2 separate regions of the Homo sapiens genome follow, and region 1 is linked to region 2. The links are contacts of gene promoters, found by promoter capture Hi-C in blood cells and fetal thymus (Javierre and others, 2016). All regions are on one chromosome and are shown on one strand. Each heading gives the region's core, a stretch centred on a gene start or on the middle of the fragment in contact. The rest is flanking DNA. Distances are from core to core; before and after follow the strand shown.

The links. The method cuts DNA at HindIII sites, captures the fragments that hold promoters and counts their contacts. A CHiCAGO score of 5 or more calls a contact.
Region 1: a contact is called between the fragment with the promoter of LEMD1-AS1 here and a fragment that was not itself captured in region 2, in 4 of 17 cell types (naive B cells, total B cells, endothelial precursors and 1 more). The highest score is 6.3, in naive B cells.

The regions. Positions count from the first base shown.
Region 1 is chr1:205,369,228-205,375,983 of GRCh38, forward strand. LEMD1-AS1 (LEMD1 antisense RNA 1) reads left to right here and starts at 4,025. Exons shown (of 4, transcript NR_038425.1): 1 at 4,025-4,207. RefSeq lists a silencer at 3,154-3,448. The HindIII fragment of the contact is 1,416 bases long and covers 2,811-4,226 here.
Region 2 is chr1:205,474,908-205,481,502 of GRCh38, forward strand. No RefSeq gene overlaps it. Among named protein-coding and RNA genes, the nearest start is that of TRK-TTT8-1, 4.1 kb to the left of the region's middle. RefSeq lists a silencer at 6,132-6,191 and an enhancer at 6,367-6,595. The HindIII fragment of the contact is 1,242 bases long and covers 4,682-5,923 here.

The DNA of each region.
Region 1 (6,756 bases), core at 2,775-5,274, 110 kb before region 2:
CTCCTGCCTTGGCCTCTGAAACTGCTGAGATCATAGGCATAAGCTACTGTGCCCAGGCCACATCAGTCCATCCTTTGGCTGTGGGCTGCCAAAGGGTATAAGGGAGTGGGTGGGTATAAGGGAGGAGGAGAGGCAGCACCCATCATCTGAGGACAACTCTCAGGAGGAGAGGGGCACCCATGAGCCATTAGCAGCCAACCCCCATGCTGCAGAGGTGGGTGTGCTGAGCCAGGGAAGAGGATCTGGGTAGAGCACCAAAACCGCATCCATCCAAACACTCAGGACAGGTTCTAATCATCTGTTTATGGCTCTGCTTCCCCCACTATTGGGTAAGCTTCTTGAGGGAGGGGAGAGTGTCTTACTTGTTATATCCCATCTCCTAGCACAGTGCGCAGCACATAGTAGGCTCTCTATACTTGCCAGCAGAATGATAAACAGGAGAAAAATTGTCATGGCTCTCAAACAGGTAAACCGTAGTTGTCTGGGGAAAAGTGCTGATCGAAAGAGGCATTGCTGGGCATAGGGCCACACTGAACCACATGGGTGGTTGGGCAGAAAGACTCACTGAATACAGAGCCTACAGCCTTCCCATAGCCAGCAGAGCAGAATTTCCTGAGAATGCAGATCTGTTTATCTAAGCAGTACTTCTGCTTCCCCACTTAGGGAGAGCATAGCACATCCAAAAGAACCTTTTGATGGCTTCTTACAAGCAAGAGACATCTGCGCTGTCACTGAGAATTAATTGTAGAAAGCCTAGCCTAAGGAAATGCTCAAGTTTCTCCTTTTTGCTACCAGATTTGGTATAAGCAGGCATGGAACTGGCAGATGATTAGTGATATGTTCCCCACACTTCTCCAAATGGCCTACTTTTGCAAACAACGTCCCACCTTTAAATGAAGCTGCTAGCAAATGTGGAATGCTGCCTATGTTATTTTGCCAAGTTGCAGTATCAGGCTTATAAGTGAAATACAGTACAGGCGACCTCTAGAATCTGCATGGCTGCTACTACTCCCATAAAGTATAAAACCCTTGTACTCTAGAAGCTTACATATTGGGATGTATTTTCCACACTTGTCAAAAATCAAGAAAGATGCATGATATCATCTGACTTCTTTTTTTTTTTTGATACAGGACCTTGCTCTTTTGCCCAGGCTGGAGTGCAGTGGCACAATCTCAGCTCACTGCAACCTCTACCTCCCGGGTTCAAGCAATTCTTCTGTCTCAGCCTCCCAAGTAGCTGGGATTACAGGCATGTGCCACCACACCTGGCTAATTTTTGTGTTTTTTTGGTAGAGATGGAGTTTCACCACGTTGGCTAGGCTGGTCTCAAACTCCTGACCTCAAGTGATCCGCCTACCTCTGCCTTCCAAAGTGCTGAGATTACAGGCCTGCACCCGGCCTCATCTGACTTCTGAATATGGTAGTGAGTGTGGACATCAGATGTAGTAAGGAAGCTGGTTTTACACCAGAAATTAAGAGAGCAAAGGCATAGAGTGTGATGGGAGAGGAGGTGAGAACTATTTCACTAGGTCTCCATTGAGAAAACTAAGAAAATAATGATAAGAATTAGTAGAATTCTTGAGGTAAAAGTGAGTTTGGGGCTAGAAAATGCACATGTGTACCCCAGATCTCTGATAGGCTCTGCTAGAATGATGGCAGTGTTGATGCCATTGCACCTGCCTATAGGTGGGTGTACCCTGCCTATGCTGGCATATTCTGGCTGGGCTCCCATAGGTACACAATGTAGAAGGTCAATGGACTTATCCAGATAGTTTGTCTTGGCCAGAACCTGTTATTAAGGGAGATATGTGGGGGTGGGAATGCTGGCAAACAAAGAAGAAAAAAAAGTAGATGCTACAGACTGGTTACCTACAGAGAGGCAGAAAACAGAATCTCACCTGCAGATGTATTTTGTTTGCCCACAGTTTGTTGCTTTTTAAAATTTTGAATTAGTTGCCAATTTAAATAATTAAGACATTTCACATAAATATCCAGAATATTCCCTTCCTCTTGAAAAGTCTGATCACATTCCTGCATGGATGGTTTGGCTGGGCTGGGAGCTACTACCTCCTCTGTACGCTAGGCAAGACCGTGGGCTCACTCATACAAATGGCCTGACCCCCATGGGTGCTTGAATTTGAGACTCCTGATACTTTGGGTGAATGTTGTGGATAGTTGCTTAGTTTATTTTATAATATATATTGTGAAAGGCCAGGCACAGTGGCTCACGCCTATAATCCCAGCACTTTGGGAGGCTGAGGCAGGCGGATCACCTGAGGTCGGGAGTTTGAGACCAGCCTGGCCAACATGGAGAAACCCCATCTCTATTAAAAATACAAAATTAGCCGGGCATGGTGGTGCATGCCTGTAATCCCAGCTACTCAGGAGGCTGAGGCAGGAGAATCACTTGAACCTGGGAAGCGGAGGTTGCGGTGAGCCGAGATCACACCATTGCACTCCAGCCTGGGCAACAAGAGGGAAACTCCGTCTCAAAAAAATAGTGGTAAAATATACATAACAAAATTTACCATTGTAACCATTTTTAAGGGTACAGTTCAGTGGCACTAAGCACATACATGCTGCTGTGCAGCCATCACCACCATCCATCTTAGAACTTTTTTCATTCTCCAAAATGGATATTCTGTACCCATTAAACAGTAACTCCCCATTCCCCACAGTCTCCAGCTCCGGCAACACCATTCTGCTTTCTATCTCTGTGAATCCGACTACTCCAGGTAGCTCATGTAAATGGAATCATACAGTATTTGTCCTTTTCTGACTGGCTTATTTCACTTAACGTAATGTCTTTAAGCTTCCCCATTGCATAGTTTCTGGCTCAGATCATTCTAGTGCTCATTTTACAGATGAGGAAGCTGAGGCCCCACGGGAGCCTGCCAGGGCAGAGGTAGAATTGGATCCTGGATCTTCTGCTTAGGACACTCTCCCTAACGTTGCCCCGTTGAGGTAAACTGAGGAATGGAGAGACCGATATGGCAGAACAGGAGGATATTTATTTTAAGATATGCACCGGCTCAGTGGATTCACATCCAAAAAGCTGAGCATTGAACAAAGACAGAGCGGGGTTTTTATAAGCGGGCTTACAAAAGCAAAACAAAGGCAGTTAACCATATAGTGCATAACTTGTGGCCTTGCATAGCTGGTGGCCTTGTAGCTGAGACAAAAGAAAAACAAGAACTAGCTAAATACAGACATTTGTAAAACATAGTTATGCTTAAGAAGCCAGGGAAAGGAGTAACAGTAAAGGAATTTGTCTTTCTTTTTTTTCCTTTCAACCTTGCTCTGGAGGAAGGAGTGGGTGTCTGGAGCCCATTCCTTTGGCCTTGGCTTTTCGGACAGCCTTATCTTATAACTGTCCTTGAAGTGAGCTGCTAAGCAGAGGAAAACTTGCTTCTTTTCTTTTTAACCCTTGCCTTGCCTGTTACTTTTCTCGGAGTGAATTAATGCATATTTATTTTTAAATTTCTGCCTCAGCCCTTCTTAGACCAGATCTCACCTTTCTTTTCTAGTAATGCAAGTGAGAGCAACATGTTCTTCACAGCAGCAAAGCCATCCCTGTTCATACAGGTTGTGGAGTTACCCTTCTCTCTGCCAATTTGAAGGGTTGCCCAACATTAATCTGGGAAGGGAAAAAGGCTGCCTCCTAATCAGAACAGTAATGAACATTAATAATCCATTCTCCTTCAAGAGACAAATTTAAAAAAACCCAGTAGCAATAAACTAAAAAAAAAAAAAAAAAAAAAAAAAAAAAAGGACAAACTCATCCTTTCCCCTCCACATATTTTTAGCTAACTCTTGAACCCAAGGAGGATTTTACCAATGGCTCTCCAGGAATTAGAGTTGTCACACCAGTCTCCTGTTGCCAGGAAATGAGGAGAGCTGTCCTCATCCACATCTGCAGTACCTAGAATAGCCCCCTCTGGCTCTCCAGAGATTGATTCATTAGGCAGGGTTGTGTTTAGGTGACGCCCACAAACGAGAACATTCATAGCAGCCATCATTTCTCAGTGAATGCGGTCCTGTAAATGCTGGCGATCTTGTAGCAGTGCTGATTAGCGAGTTGCTCCAACACCTCCTCATAATTTTTTCCTGCTCATCACTCACCTGCTTTGTCAAAATGAACAAGAAGGAAGCATGATTGAGCTGTGCACCGAGGCGGCAAGGAAGCCCTGGATGACCCTCTTAACAGGTTCATTTCTTCTTGAGCAAGCTTGTTAAAAGTTAGCATTGCTTAACACAGGCTAATTGGCTTCCCTTTCATTTTCTTCCATCCAAGTTTCTATCGGGAATCTTCCTCAGAATAAAATGCCAAGTTGGTTAGGCACTTTCTTATTTTAGTCTTGAGATTACGTTCTTGCTTCAGGAAAGAGTCAAGTTTAATTTTACTTCCAAATCAGCCCCTTCTTGTTACTCTAATCAACAAGACTTTTCTTGGCTGGGAGGTAGGGGTAGGGGAGGAAAGGAAGGGAGGAAAAAAAGCAAGAAAAACAACCTCCTAAACATCAACAATCATTTTTCTTGCATGTAAGATTATCAACTACTATAGATATAAACATTGTGGTCTAGCACTTCTTTATTTATGACTGTGGCAATGAAAATAACTTGGTACTTAACCAATTATTTTTAAGAGGTGGTAGCACAGTATTTCTTTGAATGTCGAAGAACAGAAATAGAGCCTTTAAGAATTTCTTCCATCTGCCACCCTGAATATTGACTGGGTAGAGATTTAAACAGCATGCATGCAATAGAATTGGCCTCATCGCCCCATCTGTAGAACACAAGCCTGTGAAATCCAGTGTGTCTGTGTGACATGCAATTAGCTCAATCCTGTTTCTCCAGCCAGGGCTCCACTTCATTGTTTGGCCATGGGATGGAGAACACCTTTGCTGGGTGGCAGGATTGACCCTGCTGTAAATAGTGACATTTATAGGAATGAGGACTTTGGATGCCGTGGGAATGACAGTGTGTTAGAAGGCTAAACACTGCATAATGAGGTTGATTGGGAATGCCTTTCAACAGCAGTTTGCTCATTTTAGGGACTTCTCATCACAGGGATAAACAGGAAGCAAAATCTGGGGTATTGGTTTTGTGGTTTCAAATGTCTATTTGAGTTGGAAACTGCTCAAAATGGAAATGGGCTCTTTCTGGAGGTAGCACAGACATCACTTCGAGAGGAGATCCAGAGATGATTAAGATACAGTCCTCGACACAAGGAGCTCCAAGATTTGTAGGGGAGGCAGACGAGTCATTGAAATTGAAAAAATAAAACACCTCGCTGGCAAGGAGTTTGCTCTTGACAAGAAGAAATCAGTCTCTAGACTAATTCTCTTCCTATTGCTGAGACTAGAGCCCTGCCTTGGAATTTGATTTGGCCCAAGGTCAAGAAAATCTCAAGATCATGGGTCCTTGTATAGCTGGGATAGGGGTGGGTCAATGACTCTGCTGTTGGAGAAGGCACTGAGGTAAGGCCGGTTTTTTACGTACCAGGTCCCCAGCTGTGCTCTAGAAACTGCAGAAACAGAACAAAGCATAAGATTTGAAAACAAACAAATACACTCTGCACGTTGGAAGCAGGAGAAATCTTGGCATAGTATGCTGTTGTGGAGTGAGGGAGATTTTTCTCTTTCTTTATATAGATTCAGGCAGGATTGTGTCTGAGACCAGCACTACGTCTGAATCATTGTGAGTCACTGGGAGGGAGGTATAACTGTGCCCTGTAAGCGGGTCTCAGGGTGGAGAATCACTCTGAAGGATTAAAGGTGGGGCCCTTGGAAAACGATGAATCCTGAAGCAGAAAGCAAAGCTAGCCACTTCAATGCACTTTTAATGGGGTTAGCACTTTTCATTTTCCTAGGATTCTGGGAATGATTCATTTAGCGTTTGGTGTTAAGGTTCTTCCCTCCCCACATTTCAATTTCATATACATTTTCCCTTCCATCTAAAATGTCAGAAAAGCCTGTTACACAGCCTGTGTCACTGTATTGTGGAGAATGTAGGGACAGGGCAGCAGTGGGAGAATTGGCCTGGCCTGCATCAGCTCTCTGCGGAGGTCAGCTTGATGGCAGTGATCCTGGGATGTCAGTCAGCCTCCACTCCCTGGACCTATTTTCCCCAAATTACCAGGGAAAGGTGAGCCTTAAAAAGAAGATCATGAACTGGGTGCAGTGGCTCACACCTGTAATCCCAGCACTTTGGAAGGCCGAGGCAGGTGGATCACCTGAGGTCAAGAGTTCAAGACCAGCCAGGGCAACATGGAGAAACCATATCTCTACTAAAAATACAAAAATCAGCTGGGTGCGGTGGTGCGTTCCTGTAATCCCAGCTACTTGGGAGGCTGAGGCAGGAGAATCACTTGAACCTGGGAGGCGGAGGTTGCAGTGAGCTGAGATCGTGCCACTGCACTCCAGCCTGGGTGACAGAGTGAGACTCTGTTTCAAAAAAAAAAAAAAAAAAGAATCATAAAACACTTGGGTCACATCACAAATACTCAAAAAACAGGGCAAGTGCATTCTTAGAGTTTTCTAAGCAGAGAGGTTTTAACTGTTCCTCTTCACCCCCGATTCCCCTGTCCTATCTATTTGCACTGGGCAATTGCAGCCACAATTCTGTTCTCCCTGGGAGCCCCACAAAGCTATCTCAGCCACCAGCCAGCACCTCATTATTCCTTCTCTGCTGCTTTTGCTCCAGTAGCATTGCCCCATTCACTGCCCGTATCAAAGGCACCCACATTGGGCTGCC
Region 2 (6,595 bases), core at 4,053-6,552:
CTGCGTTCCTACTCAGATCTCACCTTGACTTGTAATAATCCCCATGTGTCAAGGGCGGGACCAGGTGGAGATAATCGAATCATGGAGGTGGTTCCCCCATACTGTTTTCATGATAGTGTGTTCTCACCAGAGATCTGATGGTTTTATAAGGAGCAGAATTCCCCCTTTGGTCAGCTCTCATTCTTCTCCTTCCTGCTGCCATGTGAAGAAGGACATGTTTGTTTCCCCTTCTGCCATGATTGCAAGTTTCCTGAGGTCTCCCCAGCCCTGCAGAACTGTGAGTCAATTAAATCTCTTTCCTTTTTAAATTACCCAGTCTCAGGCAGTTCTTTATAGCGGTGTGAAAACGGACTAATACACCTTGCATCCAGCAAAAGGTAATTCTCAGAAAACTAACACACACCCCAGAAACCCTCAACCAATGGCAGTTAATAGCTCTCGGGTAGCAAGTATTATTACTAGCATATTTAGTGAACCTGAGGTATTTTGAGTATAAACAAGTGTTATAAGTAGAGGAAGGGATCCTACTAGTGTGTAAAATAAGAAGTATGAGCTTGGATTGAGGTGTTCTGGTTGGTTGCCTCAGTGGGTGATGATGATTAGGGTAGAAACTAATCGTTGTTGGGAGCTGGTGTATAACATACCTCTACCCCTTTGTTTCCCAGGTAAAATGATTCTGTGGTGCCCGTTCTAACCTGGCTCCCAGAGTTACTCAGTGGCCTTGAGCTTTGATGACTCCCAGGGGTAATTTTCCTGATAATGATCCTTTATGGGCTGCCTTCCCTTCCCAGTTTCCCTTCCCTATTCCACTCCTGGTATATCCTGGGATCACTTCCTAAATAAAATTCTACAGTTAAAACTTTATTTCAAATTGGAATGCTTCATACGTTGCTGGTGGGAATGTAAAATGGCGTAGCTGCTTTGGAGGATAGTTTGGCAGGTTCCCAAAATGTTAAATATGGAGCTACCATATGACCCAACATTTCCACTAGGTATCTATACCTGAAAGAATTGAAACATATGTCCGCACAAAAACTTGTACATAAATATTTATAGCAGCATAATCCATAATAGCAAGAAAGTGGAAACCACCCAAATGTCCATGAAATGGTGAATGAATAAGCTAAATGTGGTACATCCATACAATGGAATAGTATTCAGCCATAGAAAGGAATGAAGTACTAATACATGCTACAACATGGATGAACTTTGAAAACATTATGCTAGATGAATGAAGCTAGTCACAAAGGGCCACATATTGTATGATTCCATTGATATGAAAGTCCAGAATAGGGAAATCTATAGACACAACAACTATATTTGTGATTGCTAGGGGTCAGGGGAAGAGGAGAATGGGAATAACTGCTAATGTGTATGAGGTTTCTTTATAGGGTGATGAAAGTGTTCTAAAATTGTGATGGTTGCACAACTCTTAATATACTAAAAATCACCACATTATACACTTTGAAGGGGTAAATTATATGGTATGTGAGTTATATCTCAATAAAGCTTTTTAATTTTTTTAAAGCCCTTGTCTCAAGGTTCACTTCTTGGGAAACCTCAACTAGGATTCCCTAGAACCTAGAATTGTGCCTAGCACATAGTAAGTGTTTAATCAGTGTGGAAATACATGTTGAATGACTGAATATTGAACAACAGCAAACTCAGGTTTAATATGTCACATACACACAACTGCTAATAGAACCATACCTCCATTCCCACAAGCCAGGCCTTGACCACCACCTCATTCCCTACGGGAAACATTAAGTCCGGCAGGCATGTCTGTTGCAATTGTTAGCTTGTGAAAGGAGCAGAGTGGTGTGTATGTGTGTTAGTGAGATGGTGAGGGAGGGAAAGGGATGTGTGTGGTGTGTATGGGGTTGGGGGTGTGTGTGTGTGATGTGTGTGTAGTATGTGTGGTGTGAATGCTGTGTGTGTATATATGTGTAGTGTGTGTATATGTGTGCTGTGCGGTGTGTGTGTGTATGTGTACAGTGTGTGTATGTAGTATGTATGGTATATATATGGTGTGTGCTGTACATATGCATGTGTGTGTGTATATGTGTGTGGTGTATGTGTGGTGTGTGTGTGTATACGTGTAGTGTGTTTATATGTGTGTGGTATGGGGTTCCTGCAGCAGGTCACTGTCACTCTGCAGGGTGTCCCCACCCGCAGGGATTTGGCCGACATCTTCAGCTGTCCATTGGTTGGCCAGTCCCATCTTTTGGGGTTCAAAGGCTGAGAAGAGAAAATGGAGCCCGACCCTGAGCAGGTTTAGAGCAGAGGACACCCCTCACCCATGATCCAACATGCCAGACCCTTTCTCATCTGTTAGCAAGAAAGCCAGTCCTTGAGGGACTTAGATCACTCCCATCACCATTAGAATGGGCTTCCCAACATCTATGACTCAACATCCCCCTCAACTGAGTGAGACTGTCAGATCCCTGCCCCCATCCCCCACCCCTACCTGCTATGGCCTAGCTGAGCTCCAAGGATGAAGACCCCGCGGCCCCAGGTGTGCCTGCGAAGCTGTATGTGGGGTGAGGAGCACACTGGTGAGCAGGGTGTGAGCCCTGGGACTGTCACAGCCCCGTAAGGTTCAGAGCAGGCTCCTTCCCACCTTGGCCCGGGTCTCCTGGGAGTGTGGTGAGGCACAGGGCTGGCTGTCTGCTGACATTCTCAGTCCTTCCAGCAGGGTACATCCTCTGCCCTTCCCCCTGAGGGGTTAACCATCAGGACTGCCCCTCCTTCCTCAAACCCTGGCAGTTCCAGGGGTGCCCTCTGTCCCAGGCCTGGCCTGGCCAGCTGCCCCCTCCATTCTGCAGGGCCATGTGGATTCCCTCTAGCTGTCCCTGGTCCAGGCGCTCAGTGGCAGAACTGTAAATCCTCTAGGCTGGCTCCAGACTCTACCTGCCTGGGCACCTGCTTCGGAGGACGGGCCTGCCTTTCCCGCCCCCGGCAGATGGCCACTGCGCCTTGGGATCTGCAAGCAGGAAAAGCAGCACCAAGCATCCCCTGACTGGGCCTCCCTTGGTCCTGGCCCGCTTCCCTCACACCCCTCCCCAGGCAGCGTGCCCCTGCCCACCTGTGGGCAGCACTGGCTGTTGGCTCCAGCCCATTCCAGTGCTCATTCTGACGGTTAAGTCAGACGTCACTCCACAAATATTTTTGGCCTCCTTGCTCTGAGCCAGGCACTGTGCCAGGCCCTGGGGATACCAAGATGAATGAGGAAGCTAGAGGGTACTGCCCACAAGGACTCAGGAGAGCAGAGCAAGTAACACAGAACGCAATGTAGTAAAAGCAAGGGCATTGTTCATAAAACAGAGCTAATCACACGCAGGCACTGCTGTAAGCACTTTATGTACATTAGGTCATGTAGTTGCACAGCTCCATGGTGGAGGTCTCATTACAAATACGGAAGCTGAGGCTCAGAGAGGTGAGGACATTTGTCCAGGGCCACCCAACTACTACAGGGTCGAGGTAGGATTCAAACCCAGGCTGTCCAGCTGTCCAGCTCGAGCCTAGCTTTTATTTATTTATCTATTTATTTATTTGAGACTGAGTCTCACTCTATCACCCAGGCTGGAGTGCAGTGGTGCTATCTTGGCTCACTGCAACCTCCGCCTCCTGGGTTCAAGTGATTCTCGTGCCTTAGCCTCCAGAGTAGCTGGGATTACAGGCATGCACCACCACACCCGGCTAATTATTGTATTTTTCAGTAGAGGCAGGGTTTCTCCATGTTGGCCAGGCTGGTCTCAAACTCCTGACCTCAATTGATCTGCCTGTCAAGGCTAGCTTTTAAACAATGTTAGATTGCTTCCAGATGAACCCAGGAGGAAGAAGCTCAGAGGGCATCTCTGAGCTGCCTGGAGAGGTAGTGAGGGATCACCGGGCAGCTGGCTTTCTCTTCCCAGAGGCATTGAACTGATTTAAATATGGCTCTAAACACAGTGAGCTGGCAGGGGCCTTGGGGCCTCATGATATTAAGCCCTTAATGGTGTGAAGCCCTTCCAGGTACTAAAGGGCAGCAATGTTGGCCCTTGGCATGGGAGGGCAGGGAGGGAGGAGGGCCATGGTGCCAAGAATCTGTAACCACAAGACACCATGTCTCAAAAAAAAAAATTTTTTTTGAGACAGGGTCTTGCTCTGTTGCCCAGGCTGGAGTGCAGTGGCACAGTCTTGGCCCACTGCAGCCTCAAACTCCTGGGCTTAAGCTGTCCTTCCACCTCAGCCTCCCGAGTAGCTGGGACTACAGGTGTGTGCCACCATGCCAGGCTAATTTTTTAATTTTTTGCAGAAGTGGGGTCTTGCTATGTTGCCCAGGCTGGTCTCGAACTCTGGGTTCAAGCAATCCTCCCACCTTACCCTCCCAAAGTGCTGGGATGACAGAAGTGAGCTACTCCTGGCTAAGACACCCTGTCTTTGGTGCCAATATCACCACATGAGCAGAGGGCAGTCCTGGGGGTCCCAATGAGGCCTCTCCACCATTTATTTTATTCATTCCATTATAGTCCATACTTGCTTGATCACCACACTTATTTCATTGCCTGTCTATCTCCTAAGTCTCCAAGTTCCCCCATGAGCCATCACACCTGGGCAGGGCATGAATGTTAACATGTATCCCCAGGACCATGGTGATGGGGAGGGGGGTGGGGTGGTGGGGGGTGGGGGGGCAGGGTGAAGCTTCATTCATAAGCACCCTCACTCCTCACTACAAACTCTCAGAGAGTTCTGAGAACTCTCCAGGAACAATGTTGCAACCATTCGTTCCACACATATTTATCAAGGGCCTCCTGTGTACCACGCAGGATTTAGGCACCAGGAACCCAGATCCGCCCTCAAGGACCTCTAGTGCAGCAGGGGAGACAGAGAAGAAAGCAGGCAGCCACGTGCTAGGGAGAGCCAAGCCACGGGGGAGACCAGTGGCTCTTGGGGGTGGACTGATGACTGCAGGGTGAAGTTATCCCTTTGAGGGGCCCAGACACTGAGCTGAGAAATGGCACAATTGCTAGAGAGAGAATTACAAGAAAAGCTGAGCTGTGGATACAAACGTGTGAGACAGAGAGGGGCAGGAGAAGAAGCCAGGCTGGCAGGGGTAGGGGGGTAATAATTCCAGTTCTAACTGCTTCTACACAGAAAAACTCATTCAATCCTCGCAACAAGTTTATGAGGCAGGTACTCTTAAAATACCGATTTCATAGGTGAGAAAACCATTGGCACAGAGAGGTTCAGTGACTTGCCTCGGACACACAGCTAGAAAGTAACAGGTAGGTTTTTTTTTTTTTTTTGAGACAGAGTCTTGCTCTGTCACCCAGGCTGGAGTGCAGTGGTGTGATCTCAGCTCTTGCAACTTCCACTTCCCGGGTTCAAGCTATTCTCCTGTCTCAGCCTCCAGAGTAGCTAGGATTACAGGCGTGCACCACCACACTGGGCTAATTTTTTGTATTTTTAGTAGAGGTGGAGTTTTACCAAGTTGGCCAGGCTGATCTCGAACTCCTGACCTCAAGTGATCTGCCTGCCTCGGCCTCCCAAAATGCAGGGATTACAGGTGTGAGCCACTGCGCCCAGCCACAGATAGGATTTGAACCCAGGAAATCCGGCTCCAGCATCTGTGCTTCTAACCACCATACTGCACGGCTGTGGCAAGCAGGAGTCAAACCATAGACATCCTTTTGGTCATACTAAGGAGCCTAAAATGCTCTCCCAGGGGATGCGGAGACCCTGGAAGTTTGAACGGGAAAGAGGGATGAGGCTGGAGGCCGCATGGAGGATGGGTTTCAGGGGTGAGGCGCGAGGGCAGCCAGGAGGCTGTTGCTGCAGCCAGGTGAGAAGAGGTCCAAGGCAGCGGTGGGAGAGGGCAGGATGAATTTGAGAAAAACCAAGAAGGTAAACTTGGCAAAATGTGTGACTGGCAGGAAATGAAAGCTTGTGAAGAGGGAGGTGTGAAGAGGGGCTTTCCGATCTCTGGCTGGGTGCTTGGGGGAGGGTGCGCCACCGGCCAGGCCACCGAACACAGGAGAAAGGCTGTCGGAGTGACGCTGAGTTGAGGTTGGGGTGTGTTGTCTTGGAAGTATTTGCGGGACGCCCAGGTGGAGGTGCACAGCAGTCAGTAGAACCCCACAGCCCTGCTGCTACACCAAACCCATCTTCTCCCCACCCACCCTGCCCCCTCCCCCAGCCCCATCTTCCTCACCCCCCTCCTCCCTCCATTCTAGAGCCACCAGACTCCTGGAAAGCCCCAGTGCTTCCTCTGGGTTCCCAAGTCCTTGCACCTGTGTGGCACCAGGGCCTCCTCCCTGAAGCAACAGTTCGCCTCCCGTGGAGTGGGCATCGCAGATCCGCTCCCATTTCCGGCCTGCCCTTAATGTCCTCAGATGCTGGGATGGGAGTTTTCTAGTCTGTTTTCCCCTGGCAGCAGTGGGGACTTGATCTCCCTCCACGTCGTGTGGCCACAGCCTGTGACTCCATCCCCGTTAAGTGAACCAACACCGAATTGAGGAAGATCCCGTGCCGACCTGCACACTGATCTGTTGCAAGTCTGCTCATCAGGGTTCCTAGAGGGCAGCCACCTGGGCTGTGGCAGGGAAAGAACTGG